2 separate regions of the Homo sapiens genome follow, and region 2 is linked to region 1. The links are contacts of gene promoters, found by promoter capture Hi-C in blood cells and fetal thymus (Javierre and others, 2016). All regions are on one chromosome and are shown on one strand. Each heading gives the region's core, a stretch centred on a gene start or on the middle of the fragment in contact. The rest is flanking DNA. Distances are from core to core; before and after follow the strand shown. Region 1 holds the start of CASR (calcium sensing receptor). Region 2 overlaps GOLGB1 (golgin B1).

Evidence for each region. The method cuts DNA at HindIII sites, captures the fragments that hold promoters and counts their contacts. A CHiCAGO score of 5 or more calls a contact.
Region 2: a contact is called between a fragment that was not itself captured here and the fragment with the promoter of CASR in region 1, in 1 of 17 cell types (total B cells). The highest score is 5.3, in total B cells.

Annotation. Positions count from the first base shown.
Region 1 is chr3:122,180,587-122,186,096 of GRCh38, reverse strand. It overlaps CASR (calcium sensing receptor), which reads right to left and starts at 2,429. Exons shown (of 7, transcript NM_000388.4): 1 at 2,285-2,429. The HindIII fragment of the contact is 2,199 bases long and covers 2,165-4,363 here.
Region 2 is chr3:121,715,951-121,721,885 of GRCh38, reverse strand. It overlaps GOLGB1 (golgin B1), which reads left to right. Exons shown (of 22, transcript NM_001366282.2): 7 at 2,118-2,240; 8 at 3,385-3,498; 9 at 4,747-5,149. Among named protein-coding and RNA genes, the nearest start is that of GOLGB1, 31 kb to the left of the region's middle. The HindIII fragment of the contact is 852 bases long and covers 2,559-3,410 here.

The DNA.
Region 1 (5,510 bases), core at 1,180-3,679:
TCTGTTTTATCATAGAGACAAAAACTGGTTGATTTGCTGATTTTTTTTTTTCACTTACTATGTTTTGGTCTAGCATAGAAGTCTTGGAACAGAGCTGACTGTGCTGTATTGGCAGGAAGTAACTCGCATGTGTGGTCTCTTAGAAATTATATGGAGACTGTTCCCAAATGACAGGGCTCTGTGCTTGAGGAGTCTTCTCTACTCAAGGGTCTTGGCCTGCTTCTTCCTTCCTACTTCCCCTCCAACTTCTCCTACATCTTCCCCTCCCCTTTTGTCCACCACAAAGCTTTGTCCCTCAGCCCCTTCATTGGACACCTGGGAGGCAGGTATAAAGCACCCGCTCTCCCAGGTTCCTACAGAGGAAAAATCCTAGGCATGCCAGTTAGGGAATCCTGGAGTGGAGATGGGAAAAGCAACAGCAAGGTGTGACTGATGAAGTTCTGTTTTAAGGAATAGGAACTACTGTGGTGTTAAGTTCTGGAAATCCAGAGCATTTCAGAAAACAGCCTGCATTATTTCTCTCAGTAACAGACTACCTAAACTGCACTTGGAAGATCCAGTTTAAGGGGAAAGATAAGTGTGTTTAGAACTTGACATGGACTCTTCCCCAATGTGCCTTTTCTTCAAATCTCTGGGATAATTGAAGCAAGTAAACGAAATGTCTTCTCGTTAGTAGGCTCCCTACCCTGAGGACCACCTTGTGAAAAATATTTGAGGACAAGAGAGGCGTTGCAAGGAGGAACACTGGAGATTAAGGGATGTGGGCAGTGGTGGTGACATCATTTTCTGGATAAAGAATCAAAAGACGGCGACAGAACACGTAGAGTGGGAAAGGCTATGGGTGTAGAAAGGAGACAGCAATAGACACACATGCTAGTGCACGCATTGCCTGTAGAAGATAAATGTTTGTATTATTTGACTTAAAAAAAGAAACATATGCATGTTATCTATTGAAAGCTATAATGTTAAAATAATGATAAGACTCCATCAGTCTGGTATGCCTTTTTTTTTTCTCCCCAGGAAATACACATGGAGGCTGGTGCTCAGGCCCCGGGAACTGACAATCTAATTTGATGCCACTGAAGCAAAGTTCCCAAGACAGCTGGTAGCTTGGACCAGGAATCCTGTGGGGGCACTGACGGCCCCTGGGGCCAGAGCTGACTCTGTGGCCCTCCCCTCCATATTCATACACTCTGTAAAAGCTACCTGTCCCCTTGTTAACACGTGGCAAGCGAGTCCTTTCTGACTATATCACAGGCAGAAACAAGGCAGAGGCACAAGAAACTACCAACAGCAGGCGTTTTGGTGCGCGCTCCCGTTCATTCGCGTGGGCGACCCGCTGCCCCTTCTAGGGGCACTGAACAATCCAGTTCTGAGCCGGGGAAAGCCTTGATCCTGTAATCTGGTCCCTACTTTCCCCCACGTTCACGCCCAATGCTCCCAGGCTGGAGCTGCTCCGGCGTGTGCCCCTCGTTCGGCCCGGAGCCCTTGGCCCCCAGACCCCGCCACGGCCCCTCCCCCACCAGGGGCGCTTTCCTCCCGCCCTCCTTGGGTTCCCCGGTCCTACCTGCGCCGCGGCCAGGGCTCCCTCGCACAGAGGCAGCTCCGGCCCCTCGGCCGTGGGTCTCCACGAGGATGAGCTCTGGTCTGATCTCAGGACTGCGCGCAGCCCCGCTCCCTATGCCAAGGTCACGGTCTTGGAGAGGCGCGTCTGGCTCGCTGCGCTCCCGGCGCCCGCCTTCGGGTCCGGCCACAGCAGCCCCCGCAGACCCTCTGGGCGGCCGCTGCGGCCCCGGCCCCGGCCCCGGAGCTCCGCCCCTCTCCTGCTCCCCGCCCGCTTGCCCCCTCGGGGTCCCCAACTGCCGAGCCCAGCTCCCCTCGTAGCCCACTCGCGGGCTGCCTTCTAACCCCTACCCCAGTTAGTCCCGGTTCCTTCACCGTCTCCTTAGCCCGCAGAGAGCTTAGCTGACTCTTCAGGGTCGCTGAGGGCGCGTCTTCGGTTCCCCGAGGGCCACAGGCCGGCTCGGGTCCCCAGCAGACGGCGAGCCCCGCGCTTAGGTCCTCTCCTGCCCTCTCCCGTGCCGAGCCAGGGGTTCCCGGCTCTCAAATCCTGTTCCCGCTGTCCTCTTCCCTGACCCCTACTCCTTGGCGATGGAAAGAAGCTTAGGGCGCTTACGACGCCACCAACGTTCTCTGTGCCGAGGGTGGCACAATTTTTTTTTTTCTGATATAAGGCCAGAGATTCACAGTAAAATAAATACAAATCGCGTGCCCAAACTCTTACTCATTCTGCAAGACTCAGGTCAAGCGTTGCCTGTGCCGCAAGACCTCGGTGCTGGCAAACAGCTCCCTCCTTCCACTCTCCTGCGCGAAAGGGCGTGCGGTCCTTCCTGGCTGCAGCCAGGTGCCTGTTGCACTTGGTCTACTCTACCCGACTCCACAGCGCGCTGCTTGGAGGCCCGGACCTGGCCTTGCTTATCCTTGTCCCTAGCCCCTGGCACGGTGCCTGCCACCCATCACAGCACTAGAATATTTTATGAATAAGTGGAAAATTAATTTCTTTTGTAGAAAACCAGTTTTTTTGTATGTGTTTGTTTGTTTTTGGCTTTTTACTCTCAAATAAAGCATACTCCTTTGGGTGGGCAATTTGCTAGGCTCTATAAAGAAACACCAAAAATATTATCCCCTTTAATGCAGTATTCCACCCTTGCGGAAATTTCCAGAACAAAATAATATTCGTGCGGAGATTTTTTTTTTAGCAGGATCATTTGTTACAGAAAATAATTTTAAAAACCACAAAAAGCAAACAGAGCCAAACTGTCAACAGTAGGAAATTTGTTGAATAAATTAGGGTGACTTAATGGGACATTATACAACCATTAAAATGATAAACATCAAGACAGAAGTGCTTCAAATTCTTTTTAGAATAAGGAGGGAGTATGTATTTATTTATAAAGCAAAAAAAAAATAGGAAAACATGAAGTAACATGATAAAATGTTTGCAAAATACTGTTAAGCAAAAAGCAGAAAATTGGGTCGTTTACCATGTTTAAGAACTTCAAATAAAAATGCAGATTTCTTCTCTGCAAAATGGCGATAACATCTACCTCAGGGGGTCCTTGGAGTGTTAAATGAAATAGTCAAGGAAAGTGCCCTGTATAGAATGGATACTCAACAAAGTTTCCATTTCTTTTCTTCAATGGAACACAGACTCAAATCCAGCATGTCAAACACATCCTCATTATGGCCAAGTTCTGCCCATTTGGCTTCCTTTCCCTCAAATACAGGGTAGGAGAAGGAGCTGAGCAAATGCTAAAGCACCAGTGAAGGGGGCAAAATCTGGTTAATAGGAATAAATGTGAAGTCCTCCCTCAGGCCGAAACACCCAGCAATGTAAGTAATGGAGGATGTGGCTCAGTAGTGGTGCCTATCAAAATACCTTAGATTTTATTTTAGTTGGCTACAAGCACAGCTTTGTGAACACCCAAAGGCTGAACGAGTTCAGTTCAAAACCCGAATGAGGCTGCAATCTTAGGCTGAACTGATGCTCTTCACTGGTCGGATTACACCTGGGCATAATGTCCAAATTTGGGCACTATCTTTAAGAAAGTATTACTCTGAAGATCTATTATTGCTTCCATTTTAAAGACGAAGAAACTGATGCATACAGTTTCAGGTATTTAGGGTTGGGTGGCTAGGAGTTGGCAGAGCCAAGAGCTGAACCTGATCAGCTTGACTTACAGTCCTGGTGCTTGATCACTTTACCAGTGTGTCCCAGTGTGTACATCTTCCAGTAGAGATTGGAAGCATGGTATTGGGTGGTACACAGACAATACAATTAGATAACAGTGGATCACAAGGTGAAAAAAGATATGCCCTTTTTACTTCTTTTGTTCCTATGGATTATGTCAAGGAAGGAGTATCATTTTTGTAGTATTTGTCTTTGCACCCCTCTGTAACACTTGCTAATCTCCTGTTTTAACAAAGACAGAGGTTGCCTCTCACTCAGAACCTTTGCTAGGCAACAGCTCCTAAGTAGAATTTAATATCATTGTTTTCTCTTCCATCTGTTATTATTCCTTATGCAGTTAAGTTCCAATTGACATAGTTTTCCACTGACAAAGTGATGTGGTTTCCATTTAAGGTAAATTTTCTTATATGAGAAAAATGAGCAACTTGAAAGAAAGATCTAAAAGAACTAATAGGACCAGTGATGTTTAAATTTTGGAAATACAAGCCCATACTCTATTATGACCAGTGGATAGAAGGAATGACAGAAAGGTTTCAGTCCACAATGAATCAGGGCTGCCTGGGAAGATGCTGAAGGACAGCCTTGGGAGCTCAAACGCTGTGGCTAGAAGCTTTAAAGTTCCTGCCAACCAGGAGAATCTGGGATTCTTGACAGCAGGGCTTCTCAGGTATCTAACCTCTAGAAACACAGATTTTGGAGCAAGTTACATTCACTCCTTTTGGACAGATCCAAAAAAAGGGTTCCAAGTAAGCTCAGAACAATAGCAGCACCTCTGTGACCATGGTATAATTAACAGAGCACTAGCAGATTCTCTCTAAGGTAACTTTTGAAAGAGACAACATTTGGGAGGTTTACACTTCAATCATTTACTCCCTTACACCTTCTTTTGGTATACCCTCTATTCCTAACATCCCCGAGGGCCAAGATGGTGGGGCTGTTCCTCCTTCCTTTCATGTTCCAGCATTTCCCATCCCCAAATTCCATATCGTGTGGCCTCTGTTTCCCCTAAGGCAGCTCCCCTTGCTATTTTTTTAACCCTTTGGACTAGTATTAAAATGGATGTGTGGGGAAAAAAGGGTTTATAGGGTCCCCAGCAGTTAAAAAGTATCTTTGGTATAGGAAATTTATTTTGAAACCATAAAGTCTGAAAATCCATAATGTACAAAACCATAATCTGATTGCCTTATGGTTCAAGAATATTTGGTGAGTAGACATCACCTGGGCCCCTGACTGCTAAGAACAGAAAGCCACTTGGGAACATATAGGGCAGATAAGCTGTAGGGAAAAGACCATTCAGACAGTCCAGTGAAAGGACTAAATGCTTCCACTGGAGGAGCTACATCAGGGGAAGCTTGTTCAATTGGATTAGGAAATTCTTTACTGAGACACCTCTGATGCCTCTCTTTTCCTCACTTACTATCTCCAACCCATCTACAAGTCCTGATGGATTGACTTTCAAAATACATCCAGACTCAACCTCTTTTTCCTACCTCCACCACTACCAGCCCTATCCAAGCTGGCATCATCTTTCTCTTAGAAAACCTCCTATCTGGTTTTCCTGCACTGACCTTGCCTTCCTACAGGCTGTTCTTCCCAAAGCAACTGCAATGACACATTTAAAAATAAAATTGGATTCGGTCATTTCCCTGCTCAAAACCATGTCTGTAATGGATTCCTGTCTCAGAGTGAAATTCAGTAAATTTCATGGCCCATTAAGGCCATCATCATGTGGGTCCTGGCTGTGTCTCTGATCTCTCTA
Region 2 (5,935 bases), core at 1,735-4,234, 460 kb after region 1:
ATAATTAGGTTCATTCTTTCCCAAAATAATATCTATCTTAATAGGAAATAAATTATAGTTAGATTACTTAGTGAGCCTGTAATGAGAAAGTGGTGTAGGTCATGTGATTTTATGTTAAATGGCACCAGTATGTGACATTCTTCTTCCCATTTTTTTCATCTGTCAAGACCAGACCATTTGGATTGGCATCCTCAACTTTTTCTATTTTTCTAGGTTTCTTGGTTGGCCACGCACTCCCACATATTTATTTTTGAAATTGGGTCTCACTCTGTTGCCCAAGCTGGAGTACAAGTGGTACAATCATAGCTCACTGCAGCCTCAGTCTCCTGGGCTCAAGCCATCCTCTCACTCACCTCAGCTTCCCAAGTAGCTGGGACTACAGGCATGTGCCACTGCATCTGGCTAAATTTTTTACATTTTTTGAAGAGACAGGTTCTCAATATGTTGCCCAGGCAGGCCTTGCACTCCTGAGTTCAAGTGATCCTCACACCTCGGCCTCCCAAAGTGCTGGGATTACAGGCACTGTAATTTTTTTTGGGGGGTGGGGGCAGCGGTGGGGGAATGCTTATGAATCATGAAAGATTTTTTTCCCTGAAGTACCTTTGTACATAGCTAATTATCCATTAGGTGTTTACTTTATTAATAATTTGTAGTATTAGTAGTGCCTTCTCTCTGTGGTTGGCCTACTGCTATGTATACAGTTAAAATTGTATATCCTGAAATTCTTGGTTTTACCTATTAGCTTTTATTGTGTCCTTTTTAAATTTTTTATTTATTTTTTATTGTGTCCTTTTTATGTATAAGCACTATATACAGTGCAGGATGAAGAAATACAAAATATGGTTTTTAACCTATGTGTTGCTAAAATATGGAAAGCCAAGATACATACATGTGTTAAGAGATTCATCGTAATTTAAGGCTTTCCGAATAAGTGCCAAAGCAAGCAGCAATACAAACAAAATATTTTGGAAGGCGAAAGAGGTTACTGTGAGTTTGACAGTTAAGGAAAATTACACGGAAAAGTTGGGATTTAGGCAAAACCATGATATATAGATAATATTCCAGACAAGCTGGGGGAGATATTTCAGTGATGGGGAACGGTGTGAGCAAAACTGCAGAGAAGGAAAAGAATATGGAACAGTTATGGGAAAGGAGTTAGAGATGTTTGGCTAATGAAAGACTCCAGTGCCTACACACTTGAAACACAAGAGTCCAAATTCCTAGTGAGGTCACAATTCAGATAATAAAAACATTCTGAGGATTTGTTTTTCTCCTACCAAAAAAGAAAGCCAAAGTTTGATTCAAGGTGTCACAAACTGAGATATCAGCAGTAAAGGACCAATGCAAAATAGGCAAGCTAACAGCTAAGCAGCATGCTCCACCATAGATCTTAAGGAGATGAATAAGCAGATGCACACACTCACAACCTAAAAACAAGACAGAAGCACTGATACTGAGCAGCTCACCATCAGTCCATTTATTTCCATTTCATTCTGTTCAGAGCCAGTTAAAAATGAGCATGATCTAGAAGGCTGCAAGTAATGACAGCTGAAAACAGCTGTCTGGGGAGGTGGTGTGGATTTAGAAGCACATGAGGTTCTTTGGTAGAAGCAATTCTTTGAAAATAAGACTAGAAAGATAGATTGGTATTTCCAGTTGTAGAGAATCTTGAATAAATGATATGTTAGTTTGAATTTTCATTTATAGGGCATGAGAATTTTACTGAAAGCTTTTCAGCCATGAGCAAGAAGTGTCCAGGGTTTAATAGAAATCTAACTTAACTTCACCTTATGTGTTTAATATCTTAATCTTTTTAGAACTTTAAAAAATACACTTCTTGTATATTTAAAACATTTCTAGTAACCATGAACATATAATTTTTGATCAAAATTTATGTTTAGGCTAACTTCTGAATTTGAAAATAGGCTTTCTCTCGCATTTCATAGTTACTGTCCAGCCTATCTCTCTTCCAACATCCTCATCCTTGACAATCAAAATTTCACTTTAAAAAGCTACTATCAAGTCTCAGTGTCTGTCTTGGAAAGTAGTCTGTGAGTTTTATTTGTGCAATATTCGGGGAGTGTAACTTGCATAGTTTCTCTGGTATGTGTCTTCAGTTGAGTTCCATGCAGCAGGTGGTCCGAGAGAAAGATGCCCGCTTTGAAACACAAGTTCGTCTTCATGAAGATGAGCTTCTTCAGTTAGTAACCCAGGCAGATGTGGAAACAGAGATGCAACAGGTGTGTTGCTAAAACTCGGTAGAATGACTGTCATTTTGGTTAATATTTAATCCATCACAGCCAATTTCCTACCCTTACCCACTGCTCTTCACTTGGTGTTAGTGTTTTCCTTATTGGCCTCTTTTGTGTCCTTGTCTTCTGTTGCATAAAAATTATTTATTTTTTCTTATCCTTTTCTTGCCTTTTACCCCTCTAATCAGGTTGTTGGTGCTCAAAAGCTGAGTTTAGTTGGTGAATTTATGTGGTAGTCAAAAATTGGTTTCTCTTCAGTTTTCTGATTATAGCTACCTTTGTGCATTACACACCTAACCCAAAGCTTCAAATCAATGAAGTCAGTTTTAAATATTTAAAAAATTAGAGAAGACAAAGAATGATTTTGAAGACATGAAGTCTTTTATTAGATCAGTAATTCTTTTTTAAAAAAATTTGAGTAGATTTTGAAAATTGGCTTCATTGTATTTGAGTTCACCATCTACTAACTCAAAGTATTTTATTTCACTTAGTGTGTAGTGCATTGTGGTACTGAAAGGCACTTCAGTGATACTTTATGTTTGATCTGTTTAATTAGATTGAAAATTAATTAGAATTAATTAGAACGGAAACTTTTAAGTTCTAAGCAATCTTTCAGAATGCACCACTAAATAAAGTTTTAGAATACAACATATTATTAAGTAGAATACTAATTGTATATGTGTATCATTGCTTTATTTATTCAACAATTTTTTTTCAAGTGCCTGCCCAGTGCATGAAACTAGGAGAAGAGAAATGATTCTTGCCTGCAGAGAATGTTCTCTTGGGTGGGTAAGATGTACATGTACCTATGCTATCTAGGTACAGGTTATTAACTGTATGATTTTGAAGGCAGATATGTGTTATTGTTTTTTCTAATTTTTAAAGAGACTCCCTAATTCAGGGACTTGCTTGTGTCTGGGTCTGGTTGTTGTTGGTGCTCTGGAGAAGACATTTTGGAGACTCTTCGTTGCTGCTGGATGGGGGGAGCATGGCATGCTGGTCTCCCACTCTTTAAACTGTCATTTTCAACACCCCAAAATTTAAGTATACAAATCTACATGACATTTTGAAAGATAAGCAAATACAAGCACTCATTTGTTAGCATATTATGTCTAAAATGTTTTCTTCTCAGAAATTGAGGGTGCTGCAAAGGAAGCTTGAGGAACACGAAGAATCCTTGGTGGGCCGTGCTCAGGTCGTTGACTTGCTGCAACAGGAGCTGACTGCTGCTGAGCAGAGAAACCAGGTACTGCCTTTTAATCTTTACTTCCTGCCTTGGAGGGTATTCATTTCCACTTTCGTTTGCCAGGCAGTAGATATAAAAGCCTATTTAAAGTCTTCAGAGAATTGATGCCATTTATTCATTCTTTCAACAAATACCTCGTACTTAAGTGGTGGGGATGCAGTACAATTATGAGCAAAACTAAATACAGTTCTTTCCCTCATGGAGCATACATTGCACTTCTTTATTGTTGCTCTTTCCCTTTGCCATTTTAGATCTAGGGTCCTAGTTTATCTAGAATGTCATACAGATTGAGTATGCCTAATCTGAAAATCCAAAATGCTGCAAAATCTGAAATTTTCTGAGCACCAACATGACACCACAAGTGGAAAATGCCACAACTGACCTTGTGGAACAGGGTAACAGATCAAAGGCAAATATGCACAAAATCATTTAAAATACTGTATAAAATTATCTTTAGGCTATGTGTATACGATGTATATGAAACAAATGAATTTCATGTTTAGACTTGCGTCCTATCCCAAGATATCCAAGATATTCCACCATCTGAAAAAAATGGAAAACTAAAATACTTCTGGTCCCAAGCATTTAGAATAAGGGATACTTGACCTGTATTATCCTTTAGTGAGTTTCTTTTTCATCAGTTACTCTTCTCTGTCTTGAATGGTTTTTGTGCTTTATGTACAGCCCATCTTTTCTTGTTTTTGTAAATTGACCTTCTGTTAGATTGAAATGATCTCGTTCTGCAATATTCTCTTGAGTATGAAGGTAATCAGTAATGCTGATCTGACTATAATCCATCCTGCCATTTTCTTTCTCATATTGTCCTGATCTTCATTCTCATTGAATTCCATTGAATTCCACTTTGCTTCTCTAGTATGTTAATTCTTCCTTACCCTTGCTCCTTTCTGTGTCCTATATGGACCCATGCTTGACAGTTTGAACTACCTTTTTTCTACCCCTTGGATTCCTTGTGTTCCTATCCTGTCACATCCAAGTAGTCTCATCATAATGCAGAATTGGTGCTATAGTCCACATTCTCTGTTTGTTTTTCTGGGTGCCTGTGTGCTGCTGGGGAGTCAGCCATCTCCTCTCTTCTTAATTTTCAACTCTCCTTCTTGAGAAGGGCTTTCTCTCTAGCATAGAAACATGTTCCCATTTTTTTCCATCCTATAAGAAAAAGCACTTTACAATGCTTGTTGAAATGAAATAATGTATTTATGGCTCATGAGACTTTGTCTTTTTTCTTAGATTCTCTCTCAGCAGTTACAGCAGATGGAAGCTGAGCATAATACTTTGAGGAACACTGTGGAAACAGAAAGAGAGGAGTCCAAGATTCTACTGGAAAAGATGGAACTTGAAGTGGCAGAGAGAAAATTATCCTTCCATAATCTGCAGGAAGAAATGCATCATCTTTTAGAACAGTTTGAGCAAGCAGGCCAAGCCCAGGCTGAACTAGAGTCTCGGTATAGTGCTTTGGAGCAGAAGCACAAAGCAGAAATGGAAGAGAAGACCTCTCATATTTTGAGTCTTCAAAAGACTGGACAAGAGCTGCAGTCTGCCTGTGATGCTCTAAAGGATCAAAATTCAAAGCTTCTCCAAGATAAGAATGAGCAAGCAGTTCAGTCAGCCCAGACCATTCAGCAACTGGAAGGTCAGTAGCTGATTGCTTTTGAAGTCCACATCTCTACCATCTGAGTGGCTTGTATTTCATATTTTCAGGGATCTGTTAATGAAATCTGTACTCAAACCAATTGAACCAATAGAAGGACTGAGAAAAACAGCTCTTCTGAACTTCTTGATGCATTTTTCTTGCCTCTGACTGGCTATAATCTTTCTTAATATTATAATTATCATTACAATACTAAAAATGTGATAGTGATGTTCCAGATATTAAATAGAATGCTATGTTAAATATGACTGATCTGAAGGATTCAATGACTGAAACGAGAAGGATTTGAATTAGTTTTTGGAAAACTCAGGCCAGATCTAGGTGCATAGGTTAGGAGACTAAATTGCATGGAGTTATCCATAAATCTGAAGAAGGATGGATCTCAGTGCTTTTCTTATAGGTGAAAATCTCTTTTCACCTGATTTCTTGTCTTACAGGTGAAAATTTATCCTTTATGAAGGTATAAAGGAAACTTTTAAAAAATGTGTTATTATAAAAGTAATATGTGCCTATAAAAAATTGAACATTTTAGAACTTTATAAATTAAAAAGTGAAACTTCCTCAACACCAATACTCCATCTCACCAATCCTCTTCCCCAAATTATAACCTTTACTAATATATTGACATAGACATAAAGGAAAGATTTTAGAAACAATTAAGTTGAAAATTTGTATTGAATAACTGAATGTTAGCCAGACAGTTTTGTTTTTTGTTTTTTTTTTTTTGTGACAGAGTTTCACTCTTGTTGCCCAGGATGGAGTGCAATG